Linked DNA regions of Homo sapiens: region 1 is linked to region 2. The links are contacts of gene promoters, found by promoter capture Hi-C in blood cells and fetal thymus (Javierre and others, 2016). All regions are on one chromosome and are shown on one strand. Each heading gives the region's core, a stretch centred on a gene start or on the middle of the fragment in contact. The rest is flanking DNA. Distances are from core to core; before and after follow the strand shown.

Region 1 (7,035 bases), core at 1,177-3,676, 530 kb before region 2:
AAATTGATGGCACAATGAGAATACATGAATTGCACATAAGTAGTACTAGGAAGAAGTCTCTAGGAATTAACAGGATTTTAGCCAATAGTGAGCAAGATATACAATACATTTCACATAGAAAGTATAAATCTGGCTGCAATCGTACTGTAATAAGTACTGCAAAAGAAAATTTGAAAGACAATACTCTACCTCGCATTGAAATGAATGCCCACTGTCATCAGCAGCACTGTTTACTGTATGAGTAGCTAGCTGTGGACAGTTGTTTGGCTAAGTGAAGCACCTTCGTCACTTGTCTGGTAGGACACAGAATGACACAGCAGTTCTACAAGTTATCAAGTGTTGATGAGCAATTTATTTTCTCTTTAATACACAGTCTCAAAGTATGGACTTCAAGGAAGACTGGAAGAGAAAATGACTTCTTTTTTAACTGGTTACTTTGTCTTCTGCAAAAAGACTATCAGTAAAGCAACAAAGATAGGAAAGTTGAACAAGTAAGAAAGGCTGGAAAGACCATATAGGCCAAGCTTGTCCAACCCATGTCCCTGCAGGCTGCATGTGGCCCAGGATGGCTTTGAATGTAGTCCAACACAAATTCGTAAACTTTCTTAAAACATTATGAGTCTTTTTGCAATTTTTTTTTCTCATTGGCTATCATTAATGTTAATGTGTGGTCCAAGACAATTCTTCCAATGTGGCCCAGGGAAGCCAAAAGATTGGACGCCCCTGATACATGCCAACCAAAGCTATTATAAACTACAAAAAAAGAGACTTAACTAAACAAACTGTATTTCCTAAATTTCCTTCCCAACCCCTATAGACATACTGACAATTTCCCAGGATTTTAAGCAGCAAGTCTGACAAGTGTGACTTAGTACTACCATACATGTTAAGCATCTGGAAGTTTTTAATTTGAAAAACCCCAAACCTCTAGCATTGAGAAATTCCTTCCATAAAGAGACCAGGACTTTTATGTACTTGCATATAATTTCCTCTGTACAAAATTATTTAATGATCCAAGCTTTAGCTATTTCTGAGGACACTTTCCTGAATATTGGCTTGGTTCTGCAACCAAGTTCTATATGAGGAATGCTATATATTGGTGGTAAAATTTATTTACCATTTTTGGAATTTTAAAAAAAAGGTTCATTTATTTTTATAGCAAAAAATGCCCTTGAATGGAGAAGTCTGAGGTATACTTTCTGTATTCTGTGGGTGAGTTCATGACACATTAGAGTCAGAATGTGTTTTATTCTTTTAAGCTTTCATCTTTTTGAGCAGAAAACCCTTGCTTCCATCATCAATCCTCAAGAAGAAATCTCAGAGGAATTGTATAATCAGTAACATGTATCCCCTGTATATATGTATCATACATCATTTTTTCTCATCATTTTCAAGTTATTACATCTGTACTTTTGTTTATTTTTAATCATATACTGCTAGCATTTTAAACATTCACACTGTTTCACAATTATAGGATGTGATGAGAATAATGTTCATTGGATTCCTAAAAAACCAAGAGTAAATACAGCAAACAGGCCCTTAATCAACAAGCATTGCCCTAACGTGATCCGTGGTTGGCAAGCAGAGTGGACAGGATTGTCTTTGGGAGGTAGCCATATAGCTATGAAACTACAAAAACAGAGGATGTTCTATGTTCCTAAATAAGAACCCCATTCTACTCAGGGGGCTCCCCTATCTTCCCTCCCTTTCTCTAGCATGGATAGAACCCCTATTTTGCCTCCATTCTGTTGATGACACTTTACCTGGATTACTGTCAGCTTCTGATTTGGAGCTTCATCACCCTTGGGTCCCAAAGCCTCTAGACCTTTCCTGGGTGATAGCTATATTCATGATTCAATTTAGCAGCATAACTGAGAAAACATCAATGGCAAATATCAATATTTCTCCTACATTTCAAAAAGTAGCTGATTATTTTCTCAAAAATTACTGTTAAAATATAAATTTCAAAAAAGAAAATTATGAGTTTCATACAGATGTAAAATTAACAAGTGTTAAAGATTTTACTTAAATCATTAAAGAAGGAACTAGTAAGGTGTTATAACCAGTTCAAAGGAGAGTTTAAAAACATACATATTTTTAGTTCAGGAATATTGAAATAGATGTACAAAGGGAGGCAAAACGGACTTTTTCACAGTGGGAAGTCAGTTATACTCAGAGTTTGCATGTCTATAGATAAAAGTAATTTTGTTTTTCTATTAATTATCTACAACTTACACAGTTATAAAACAGCTCTCAAAGAATCAGAATCAGATACATAGGAAAGATGTACTGTAGACAATGCAGTTTTCCATAGGTGTACAAATTTTTTCCTACATTACTAAAGCAACTACACAGGAAACAGTTCTTTAGGTAAGCAAAAAATTTTGTATATATATGTGTGTGTGTGTGTGTGTGTGTGTGTGTGTGTGTGTGTGTGTATATATAATTTAGTATTCCTGGTAGTAATGATGATTGTTTATTATTCTGTTTCCTTTCATATTCCTAACCTATGGATTTGGGGGACTGAATGTTTTCATTTCTGTTAAAATTAGTTATTTAAAAGACAGTTCCTGTGAGTTTGGACTTTATATACTTTATCTGCTAGGCCCATGCGGTGGTGCTAATTGCTATGCTTGCATTACTGGTGTGATTTACATCAGTGTAAAATGGAAAATTGTAACACTGACAATTTGTTTGAGGCAGACACCACTTTGGAAGACACTGCTTCCTGTATTTAGGTACCAATGAATAGTTCCACTAATGTTAAAGAAGGAGTTGCTGACCTCACTTTGTGTTTTGGAAAATTATGTACAGGCAGTTACATTAGCCTTTCTCCCTTTTCTGTACTTCCAGGGAACCACCCTATTAATAATAGTGCCCATTATAAATATTTAATATAAAAAAACCAGAAAAGTAAGATAACAAAGGGGTTAAAGAGCATCTTTGATCATAATGGATTTTGCAGGGAACCACATTGTGATTAGAAAAGAAAATATTTGTGAGTAAATCAATTCCATGCTCCTGTCTTATATTTTTGACTGTGTGTATTTAGCAACAGAGCAAACAGAGCATGTTATACCAACTCCATTACTGTATTTAAAATTTTGAGCTCATAAATGATATTTGTTTCATAATCTACAAAAATATCTAGCCTTTTTCTTTTTCACTAGCAAGAGATGTAGAGGAGGAAAGCCTTAGTTATTCCTGGGCCTGAGTAAGGCTGAGGAAGGGGAAGGACTGAAGGAACTTTTTGAATGGAGAAACCATTCATCTGTAGACTGCATTTGCCTGATATGAGCATATGGTTGCCTCTGGGATTTTACGCTGCTATTTTGGCCCTCCTGGCTTTGACTTCAGATATCTCATCTCCTAGTTTATTTTTTTCTTGGATACTTCCAGCCAGTTCCCATCTTACTCATGCATGTGTTGTTGCTTCAGACAACATTGTTTTTAATCCATACTTCGAAAGATTTGTTTGCCTATTCTTGGCCCATATGTCTCCCATTGGTCTGCCTTGTTTGATCTTGCTTTACCTCTTCTACCCACATGCAACCCACTTTATCAGCTCCTCAAACAGCTCGGCCTTAAGCTTCCTAGGTATGTGGATGCTCTCCTCTGCTCTTGCCTGTCTCAGTTGCTGCCACCTTTTGGCTGAGGCAACTTGGATTCTGGCAGAAGAATGGCTGAAGCTAGATGATGGCCTTGCCTATACATTCTAGGAAGAAAGTATGTCAGAATAGGGGCTATGGGTGAGGGGAATCCATTGAAACTACAGGTGGGTTGGTGGGTTTTGTAGGGAAATATTTATCTTCATTTAAAAGCAAGTTACATTCTGGTTGTCTCCTACTACTAGGTAGAGGAGGGACTAATTATAAATATTAAACATTTTAGATATTAGTATTTAAAAATGATATATTGTGGATGGTAACTGACCTCTGGTATTACCTAATGCCAGTCGACTCTGGCAAAGGTGAAAGGTCATGTATATAGCAGCCTTTAAAAATTTTTTTTATTCAATTAACTAATAAAATGTTTATTGTGACTTACTGTGGGTGAAACCCTGTGCCAAATGCCTGACTGTTTAGGGAAATAAGTAGGCTGCTAAACCCTACTTATTTCTTCACCTAAACATTAGATGAAGAACTAATGGTGTCAGATAAGCAGACTGAAGACTGCAATAGAATTAATAATTACAAAAGTATGGCCTGTAGCAAACCGTATCCAATTTTAATGGACTTAAAACTACAATGATAATTGGTATTTGAACTCATAATTCCAGTTTACTTTTCATGACTTCAAAAATAGTAACATGTTATCAGAGAAATTGGTATTTGGATTTTTTTGTGTGTGTGTATTATGATACTTTGCAGAAATGCTGCTAACACACCAATGAGATGGTTTTTCTGGAGATAAATGATCTCTGCCAGTTGTTAGGTCAACTGTCACATTTTTAACTCCTCCCCAAGATGCCTTCTGGCAGTTATTGGAGCCTTGCTGGCCCTCCTAAATGTTGGATCAGACTCTGTGGTCATGTTTTCTAGCGAAGGCAGAATCTCTGGGTCTTGGTTAGACTCCCTTGGGTTGTGAGAACAGAGATCGAATTAGGTGGCCTTCAGTAACAGTGGTATATAGATTTTCAACCTTCCCATTATTGATATTTTGGGTTGGTTACTTCTTTATTTTGGGGGGCTGGTCTGTGCGTCATAGGATGCTTAGCAGCATCCTTTGTTTCTATCCACTAGATGCCAGTTGCACTCCTTGGCTTCCATAACCAAGACTGCTTCCATATCTTGCCAAATGTCCCAGAGGAAGCAAAAATCATTCCCAGTTGAGAATCATTCTTTACTTATTCCCAGTGAATAAAAAAGGCAAGAATATATACTCTGCAGCTAGTTCTCTTAGAAGAACAGGAAATGAAGGGTAGTCAGAACAGTCAGGATATATGATCATCTTCTCACCGGGAGGCATCCATTATAGTGCCTGCTGGGGCCTAAGAATTTTATTTCTATTTCTATTGTTTTATCAAAGCTGTTCTTTCCTCTACATTATAGCTGCTTCTGTTGCCTTATGCTCAAGGTGTACCTCAAGGTTGAACTCTTTCTTTGTGTTTGATGATAGTATTGTTATTATTATTAAATGATTCCATGCATATAACAAAAATGCAAAAATTTGAATTAAAAGTGGTACACAATATCCCATCTCTCTTCAGAGGTGTCTATTGCTGTAGTTTGTTGCATATTTTCCTAACACAAATTGATTTGCATCATTCTTTTTGAAGGCTATACACTATTATATGATTGTACCACAGTTTAATAGGATGACAGACAACTTTTGAAAGTGCAGATACTATTTCCTGTTTCTAATTTTTCTGTTTCCTGAGGAAAATTACTTTGATTCCTACTTCTATTCCACCAGCCTCAAGCTGTATATGTGGGAGCCCAGTCAATTCTTCTTGACTAAGATATTACTGATGTGGTATGCTGCTGATAAATGCTTAATCACTCTCAAACAGACAAAAAAACAAAAAACAAAACAAAACAAAAACCAACAAACAACAACCCAACTCTGATTTGTAGCATTTGCAAGTTTTTCGGGTGTAAATATCCTACCAGGATTGATTTCAAGTTAACACAGTAATGTTAGGAAGTGATATTTGAGTGTTTATTAGCTTTGCTTTTAGAGTAATTTTTAAATAGTAAGTTTATAAAATTTGTTTTAATAATCACTGTGTTTAACAATGGGCTTGCAAAATCCTGAAAGCTGAACCATCAGCTCTCTCGAGTCAGCATTCAGCTTCTCACAACCACTGGCACTGATAATCCCTTTTTTAGATTGTGTGAATTGCATTATTCGTCATAATGTTGTCTCCAAGGGACAACGCTGCCTTGGCTAGTATTTTAGAATCTCAGTGTTGGAGAGAGTGTGTTTGAAAGTTATCTAGACATACATTACATTTGATACTTGAATTCCCTTGGTGACATTCTGGCTATAATAGTTGGTGACATAAGTCATTGAATTTATGATTATCATTTGAAATAGAGCTTTCAATTTTGGACAATTTGTTAGAAAACTTCACCTTTTTGTTAGGTTGAAATTCTTCTCTTTATATAGCATGGATCATTTGATTCTGTATACCATTCTTGCTCTACATCATAAAAAACAAGTTGAGTACCTCTGTACTATGATAACTCTTCAAGTATTTAAAATGACCTATTATATTTCCTATCGATGGCTTTATTTTTAGAATAAATTCCCTTAATTCATTCAGAGGTTCAAGCTCATCTATTTCTTTCTTAAATTTGTGCAACTGATTCTCAATGAAGCTCCAGATGTGGCCTGACAGGTGTATGCAAGAATGGGAGAGAAAAAAAACTTCCCTAGTTCTAGAAACTATACTGCTAACTAAGCAGACTAAAATTATAATAACTTTCTTGCTGGTCTCGTAATTCTATTGGCTGATACTGAATTTAGCACTGATGAAAATCCTGAAGTTTTTTTTTTTATACATGCTGTTAAGTCCTGTCTTCCTCACTCTTTATTGTATAGGTTTTTTTTTTTTTTCCTGGGTGGGGCATGGGGGGACAAATTCAAGACTACCTATATATTTTTATTAAATACTTACCTGTGTTTATAAAACCTAAATCCGGCCTTGTCAGAATTTGTTGGAATAATTATTCTTTCAATAAATTTCCAGCTTCCTTTGCCTTCATGTGACTTGGAAATTTGATGAAAACTGACTAATGGTGTTTTCTTCTGATTCTGTAATAAAATGCCTAAGCGTGAGAAAGTTCAGCACAGAGCCCCATGGCTTTCTGGTAGTTTTTCTCTTTTAGTTGCCAATAATCTATTTATGAGCACCTTTGGAATTGCATTTTTACAGTGATCCATTTACTTAATTGTCTTCCGTGCATTGCAGTGCTTTCAACTGTGTTCCTCAGAGCACCATTGCCTTTTCTTTTCTTTTCTTGTTTTTGACGGAGTCTCACTCTGTCATCCAGGCCAGGCTAGAGTACACTGGTGCGATCTTGGCTCACT
Region 2 (6,786 bases), core at 873-3,372:
TACAGACAGAATTTCACCAGGTTGCCCAGGCTGGTCTCAAACTCCTGAGCTCAAGTGATGCACCTGCCTCAGCCTCCCAAAGTGTTGGGATTACAGCTGTGTAGCTCCCCACCAGCCACAGAGCTCAGTTTTCAATACAAAGAAATTGGGCCTCAGAAAGGTTAAGAAGCCCAGCTGGTTTATGGAAGAACCAGATCTAGAACCCAAGACTCTTAATCCAGAGTTTCTTAAGGCACTGGGAATATTAACAACAAGAATCCATAAAGTTTTATGAAGGAAGTGTGACTATGACTTCACCAGGTCAAGGTGGTTTGAGAGTAGATATACAGTTGGCAATATCTTTCAGGCACAGAACTAGACCAAGATTACATAACTGGGATTTCTTGCAAGTCTCCAAAGTGCTTCCTGCTCTTCATTTATAAAACACGGAATTCTTTTTTTTTTCTTTTTTTTGTGGAGGGGGATGGAGTCTCACTCTGTTGCCCAGGCTGGAGTGCAGTGGCATGATCTCAACCCACTGCAACCTCTGCCTCCCAGGTTCAAGCAATTCTCCCTGCCTCAGCCTCCTGGGTAGCTGGGATTACAGGTGCCCACCACCACGCCCAGCTAATTTTTGTATTTTTTTAGTAGAGATGGGGTTTTGCTATGTTGGCCAGGCTGGTCTGGAACTCCAGACCTCAGGTGATTCGCCCAGTTTGGACTCCCAAAATGTTGGGATTACAGGCGTGAGTCACGGCGCCTGGCCTAAAATCTGGAATTAACACACTGTTCCTCATAGGACTCCATTTCTCTTTCTACCTTAGGCAATCCAATTCTACTCCTCCTGCAGTGCATGAATATATATTAATAACTTTTTTCAAGAGAAAGATCAGTTGCAAATACTTATCAAATGTGTTGATACATGCAAATTAGGCTTTCCCTGCTGCCCTTTCAAAACACAGAGAGAATAAAATGACCTATCCTTAACCCAATGACTAAGTGTTTGTGTGAACTTGAATAAACCTTCACCTTTCCTGTGCCTCACTGTTCTTATCTACAGAGCAGAGAAGTTAAACCAGATGACTTCTAGTTAAAATAATGTATGATTTAATGATTCAGTTAATTAAGATTCTATTGGGAGGCCGAGGCGGGGGGATCACGAGGTCAGGAGATCGAGACTATCCTGGCTAACATGGTGAAACCCCATCTCTACTAAAAATACAAAAATTAGCCGGGCGTAGTGACGGGCGCCTGTAGTCCCAGCTACTCGGGAGGCTGAGGCAGGAGAATGGCGTGAACCCGGGAGGCGGAGCTTGCAGTGAGCCGAGATTGCGCCACTGCACTCCAGCCTGGGTGACAGAGCCAGACTCCATCCTCAAAAAAAAAAAAAAAAAAAAAAAAAAAAAAAAAGTTTCTACCTGTGCACATATTTAGCTTCAGATATGATCTGTGTGAGAAGACCATCTTGAAGGAAGTCAAGAAATCTAAGAATGAGTCCCGTTTTCAGCATCAAGTGGATATATAATCATTAGAACAGGGAATAACCTCACTTTCCCCGTTCATTAAATGGGGTAACACTCGTGGTCATCTCTCAGGGTTGTTTTGAAGACTGAACAAGATAAGTCATGTGAATGTGTTTTGTAAGTTGTATAGTTAGAGGAATTAGAAGTGTAATCATTGTTAAAGGAGATGTTTGAAACACTGCATATATCATCACTGCCAATGGAGATAACAGGCTGAGTCCGGGTTATTTCTCGTTAGGACGCGTCCTTGTGCTGAGTAAATGGTAGGTTACCTTATCAGACTGCGCAGTGAGTCTTGATCCGGGAAGCGCCTAACTCCTGAATTTTTACCAGAAAATAAAGGACTACACTAAAAAGAAACCAGAAAGAACGTGGGAAGGAGGGAATTCGCAGGCAGAGGAGGAGGAAAAGCAAAGACGAGGCAAAGTTAGGAGAATGAAAGGCGAATTCAGAGGAATGATAGGGGCGGGTAGGGCCGAGCCGGCCTGGCAGGACAGGGTGGTGGCGAATGAGCTGCTAGCCCGGCGACCTGCCCGCGGCCCCGGCGGGGGAGGAGGAGGGGCTTGGCAAAGGGCAACGCCAGAGCCAGACTTAAAAGGGAGATGATCCTAGCTAGTTGACGCCACCGGTGACCTCCGACGCCCCGGGCAAGAGAACGCCAGGAGGGATAACGGGAGGAAGGCCGGCCGGGGCCGCCAAGGCAGTCCCAGGCTCGCGTAGGAGGCGCGCAGACCTTGCACCTTGCACCTTCGCAGCGCCCTGCACCCCGCCACCATGTGCGAGCTGTACAGTAAGCGGGACACTCTGGGGCTGAGGAAGAAGCACATCGGGTAAGGGCACCCTGGCCCGGAAGTAAGTGCAGAGAGGGGGCAATAACGAGTGCAGAAGGTGGAGAGAGAAAGCCGGCTAGGGAACAAACGATGCGCTGCAGCCGCACTCCGTGCCCGCCGCGCCTGTGCACGCGCCCCGCGCGCCTCCACCTGCAGGGGCCGCGCGGACTCCCAGAAACGCTCCTGGAACCCGGAACGCTGGGCTTCCTGCCCGCTCGAAAGTCCCCGGCTCGCTCTGCAGCCGGCGGACTAGCGGGGGCTGCCGGCCGGCTAGAGGGGTTGGTGGATGACGGCCAATAGCCCTAGCAGACACCATTCCAGGGATGGGAGATGGGTGGAAGAAGGATAGCGCTCCGCCACCCCCACACAACTCGAAAGTTTTTGGAAACTGTGAACTGAGAAATATTTTTTCATGATGGCTCCGCAAACAAACCAATTCTGACAATTTTTACTTAAAGTGAGCTTTTTCTTCTTGCATGCTTGGTTAAGTGATGAAGGGTTTATCTAGCCAATAGAAAAACTTGAAACCACCTTCTGTTAGAAAAGCAGAGACTTTATTTAGATCCCTCTTACCCAACTTGCTCTCCCAAGCTGTGTTCTTCCCAGCCTGCTTGTCTTGCCCCCGTCACAAACGACTTAGTAATATAAAGGTGAGTATATAAGACCGACAGGGGCTCTAGCTCTCGTTGGATGTCATATTCCCTGTGTGGACCTCTGTCAAATTAATTGTCTCTTCTATGAAAGTAGGAATAACATTCTACTTCACAGGAGCAAGAAGATGAGATTAATATGTTAGTGTTTTGTGCGTGGTTTTTAAAAAGATACGTGTAAATATAAATGATGATTAATGACCCCGAATACTGTAAAGTCAACCGTCTGCAATATTCACTTGAAATGAACGACTGCAGCCGGGCCAGTGGGCATGAGAGAGCACTTGGGGTTACAAGGAAGAAAACAATCCGCATCCTCTTCGGAGGAATGCTGGACAGTTTCTCAGACTGAAGCTCCTCACCCCAACTGGAGGGGTTTCTGGGTGGTTTGGAAGACTAGTTCCATCTCTCTCAGCCGCTAAGTGGGATCAAAATAATCCAGTTCTTTCCCCATTAATCAATCACTACCCTACTTTTTCTAATCACTCACTGCGTTAGTTTTCAATCTTAGTTAGATTCCGGTAAATGCCTAATGGTTTCTGACATGAGCAGAACAAATTTTCTAAAAGCACGAGTGTAGCCATGGGCTGACTGGATAAAGGAGAATTTTACCTGAAGTCTGACGGGCAAGGTGGAAAGTGTATTAAAAAGGCAATGTGAAGTCTGCAGCTTTCAGCTCACATCCTTAACAAAGTTTTTTTTTGGATTTTAACTTGTAGGTATAAACTAACAGCTGAGTTTGAACCAATAAGAAATTCTTATAAAATACTATTTTCATTTCAGCTGATGATGCTTAAAAAAAATCAATATATAACACAACCTTATGCAATTTTAAAATTTGAGGTTACCTACTGTTTGTAATAATCAAAATTCCTTCTAAACAGTTACATATCAATTTAGTATATTTCTACTACTAGAACTACCTCCAATGTGTGTGAGGGTTTTTTTGTATGTATGCAAAATCACCAAAATAAATAAATATATTTAACTTTAGTTCTTAAATGTTCATAAAGCCAAGATTAGAAGCCTTTGTGAAATTTCTATGTGCTAAAATGTATAATCCAGCCATTCATCCAAATAAAAGTATGGATGACCTTATTATGCTCAAAAAACATATTAAATGCTTAGAAGAATAATTGAATTTCACTATTTAATAATGGAAAATCCATTTGATACTGGACAAGTACCACTCAAAATACATGAAAATGAAAATAATCTATAAAACTTCCTGCGTAGTATTTAACTCTAGGTTATTTGCATTTAGCTTTCAGTGCTATTCATGTCTTTATACATTAGATTGAAGGGGAAACAGAGATGTCTACCTTGGGCTACAGCACAACACAGCCTACTTGCAAATTCTGGTTTTCTCATTTACTGTCTGTGTAGCCTTAAACCAGTTACTTAATTTCTCTGTGCCTTGGTCTCCTCACCTATAAGAGTGAGAAAGATAATAACCTCTCTTTCATAGGATTGTTGACAGGATTAAATAATATTTACAAAATATATAACAGCTTCTGACACATTAAGCCCCCCAAAAAAACTTGGTTATTTTTTTTCTGATAGAACAAAATTTCTCAAAGGAAAATTAGTTATTGGTCTGTGTGATTAGAACCATCAGAGAGTGGATTCCTGTGCCTCTAATAAATTGTCAAATCATGGCATATTTAATATAACAAGCATAAGGAATGTGAACAATGTCATGAATGGGGGATTAACATAAAAGTTTCCAGGTTTACATGAAATGAAAAGAAATGTATGTCATCCAGGTTGTGTTTTCCCTTTCCTTTATGTAACTGTACTTTTCCACTGATGGGGACCTTCATTGAGAAGGAAAAATACTGAGAGTAGTCCTACCAGACCAAAGTGTTTCCTTTGATTATTTCTAGGCCCTCATGCAAAGTTTTCTTTGCATCGGATCCCATCAAAATAGTGAGAGCCCAGAGGCAGTACATGTTTGATGAGAACGGTGAACAGTACTTGGACTGCATCAACAATGTTGCCCATGGTAAATGTCCTGTCCTTGCAGTGCTTTGGAGGAAATGTTCATGGAGTAAAGCTGACTTGGAACACTTAATTTTTGTTTGGGGAATTGCAGTGGCTGCAGTTCCTTTGCTGAGTGGGCCAGTAGTCCTAGTGGGGAAAATCGCAGCAAAATATGGAAGAGAAAGGAACTCAACTTTTGTTTGTTTGTTTGTTTGCTTGCTTGCTTGCTTCATAATTCCTCTTATTCCCAGGCACTTAGAATTCTAACTTATTTCTTGGGCTTTTGTTTCATAAATTTTAGTGGGACACTGTCACCCAGGAGTGGTCAAAGCTGCCCTGAAACAGATGGAACTGCTAAATACAAATTCTCGATTCCTCCACGACAACATTGTTGAGTATGCCAAACGCCTTTCAGCAACTCTGCCGGAGAAACTCTCTGTTTGTTATTTTACAAATTCAGGGTATGCTTCATGGTTTCCCACCCCTCCCCATTCCCACTAAACTTTGTCTACTCTTGCACACAAATCTTTCCTTTTGATTCATGGTGGAGCTTGTCCAAAAGGGTTTGCTGAGTTTCTTGCCATTCACTAAGTGATCACACATTAGGGACCTAGCCTTTCTGGTTCTCCCACTTTATTCTACGACTGTGAATCTAACTGATCAAATGATGCTCACCTCCTCAGGCAGTGCAATAAGTAGCTGAAGGATTGATAGGCCAAGATATTCTTTCAATGAGTGTATGAGTAACTTTAGCCAAGAAATAACTCTAGTAAACAAGCTAAAACTTTTTTTTTTTTTTTTTTTTTTTTGAGATGGAGCCTTGCTCTGTCGCTCAGGCTGGAGTGCAGTGGTGTGATCTCAGGTCACTGCAAGCTCCGCTTCCCAGGTTCACGCTATTCTCCTGCCTCAGCCTCCCAAGTAGCTGGGATTACAGGCACCCGCCACAACGCCCAGCTAATTTTTTGTGATCCACCCACCTCAGCCTCCCAAAGTGCTGGGATTACAGGCGTGAGCCACTGCGCCTGGCAACAAGCTAGACTTTTTAAAGATTTTTGATTGTTGAAAATTGAGCATATTTCCCCAATACAAACATAAGAAAAGAAAAAAGAAGGAAACTCAAATAGATACATTTCAACTTTCATTTATTTATTTATTTTTTTGAGATGGAGTTTCGCTCTTGTTCCCCAGGCTGCAGTGTAATGGCACTATCTCTGCTCACTGCAACCTCCACCTCCCGGGTTTGAGTGATTCTCCTGCCTCAGCCTCCTGAGTAGCTGGGATTACAAGCATGCGCCACCACACCCAGCTAATTTTGTATTCTAGTAGAGATGGAGTTTCTCCATGTTGGTCAGGATGGTCTCAAACTCCCGACCTCAGGTGATCCACCCGCCTCGGCCTCCCAGTGCTGGGATTGCAAGCATGAGCAACCGTGCCCAGCCAGAAGGAGCCCCAAGAGATGCGGGCTGGTCTGGAAGGCCATGCACAGGGCCACCAGCAGCGCCTCGGGGTCAGCGTGGGGACCCTGGGGCCAGCACCAACACCCACAGGCTGGCCATCTCCAGGCAGGCACCTCGGGCTGCCTCAACTTTTTAACTTAGTTTTTTGTTTTGTTTTGTTTGATTTTTAGTGACAGTGTCTCATTATGTTGCCCAGGCTGCTCTTGAACTCCTGAACTCAAGCAATCTGCCCACCTCAGCCTTCCAAAGTGCAGGGATTACAGGTGTGAGCCACCGTGCCTGGCCCCAACTTTTAAATTCTGTAAATTCAAATCATTATATATCCATTCTATAGACTATTATGCAGATATTTAGGAGTATGTTT

What was found. Contacts are between HindIII fragments. The CHiCAGO score rates a contact against its expected background, and 5 or more counts as called.
Region 1: a fragment that was not itself captured here is called in contact with the fragment with the promoter of ETNPPL in region 2 in 1 of 17 cell types (megakaryocytes); the score reaches 5.7 in megakaryocytes.

What each region holds. Positions count from the first base shown.
Region 1 is chr4:109,284,366-109,291,400 of GRCh38, reverse strand. The region is part of intron 3 of COL25A1 (collagen type XXV alpha 1 chain); the gene reads left to right. Among named protein-coding and RNA genes, the nearest start is that of COL25A1, 15 kb to the left of the region's middle. The HindIII fragment of the contact is 2,330 bases long and covers 1,262-3,591 here.
Region 2 is chr4:108,758,389-108,765,174 of GRCh38, reverse strand. It overlaps ETNPPL (ethanolamine-phosphate phospho-lyase), which reads left to right and starts at 2,122. Exons shown (of 13, transcript NM_031279.4): 1 at 2,122-2,332; 2 at 4,869-4,987; 3 at 5,267-5,426. The coding sequence starts at 2,277. The HindIII fragment of the contact is 7,360 bases long and covers 1-6,786 here.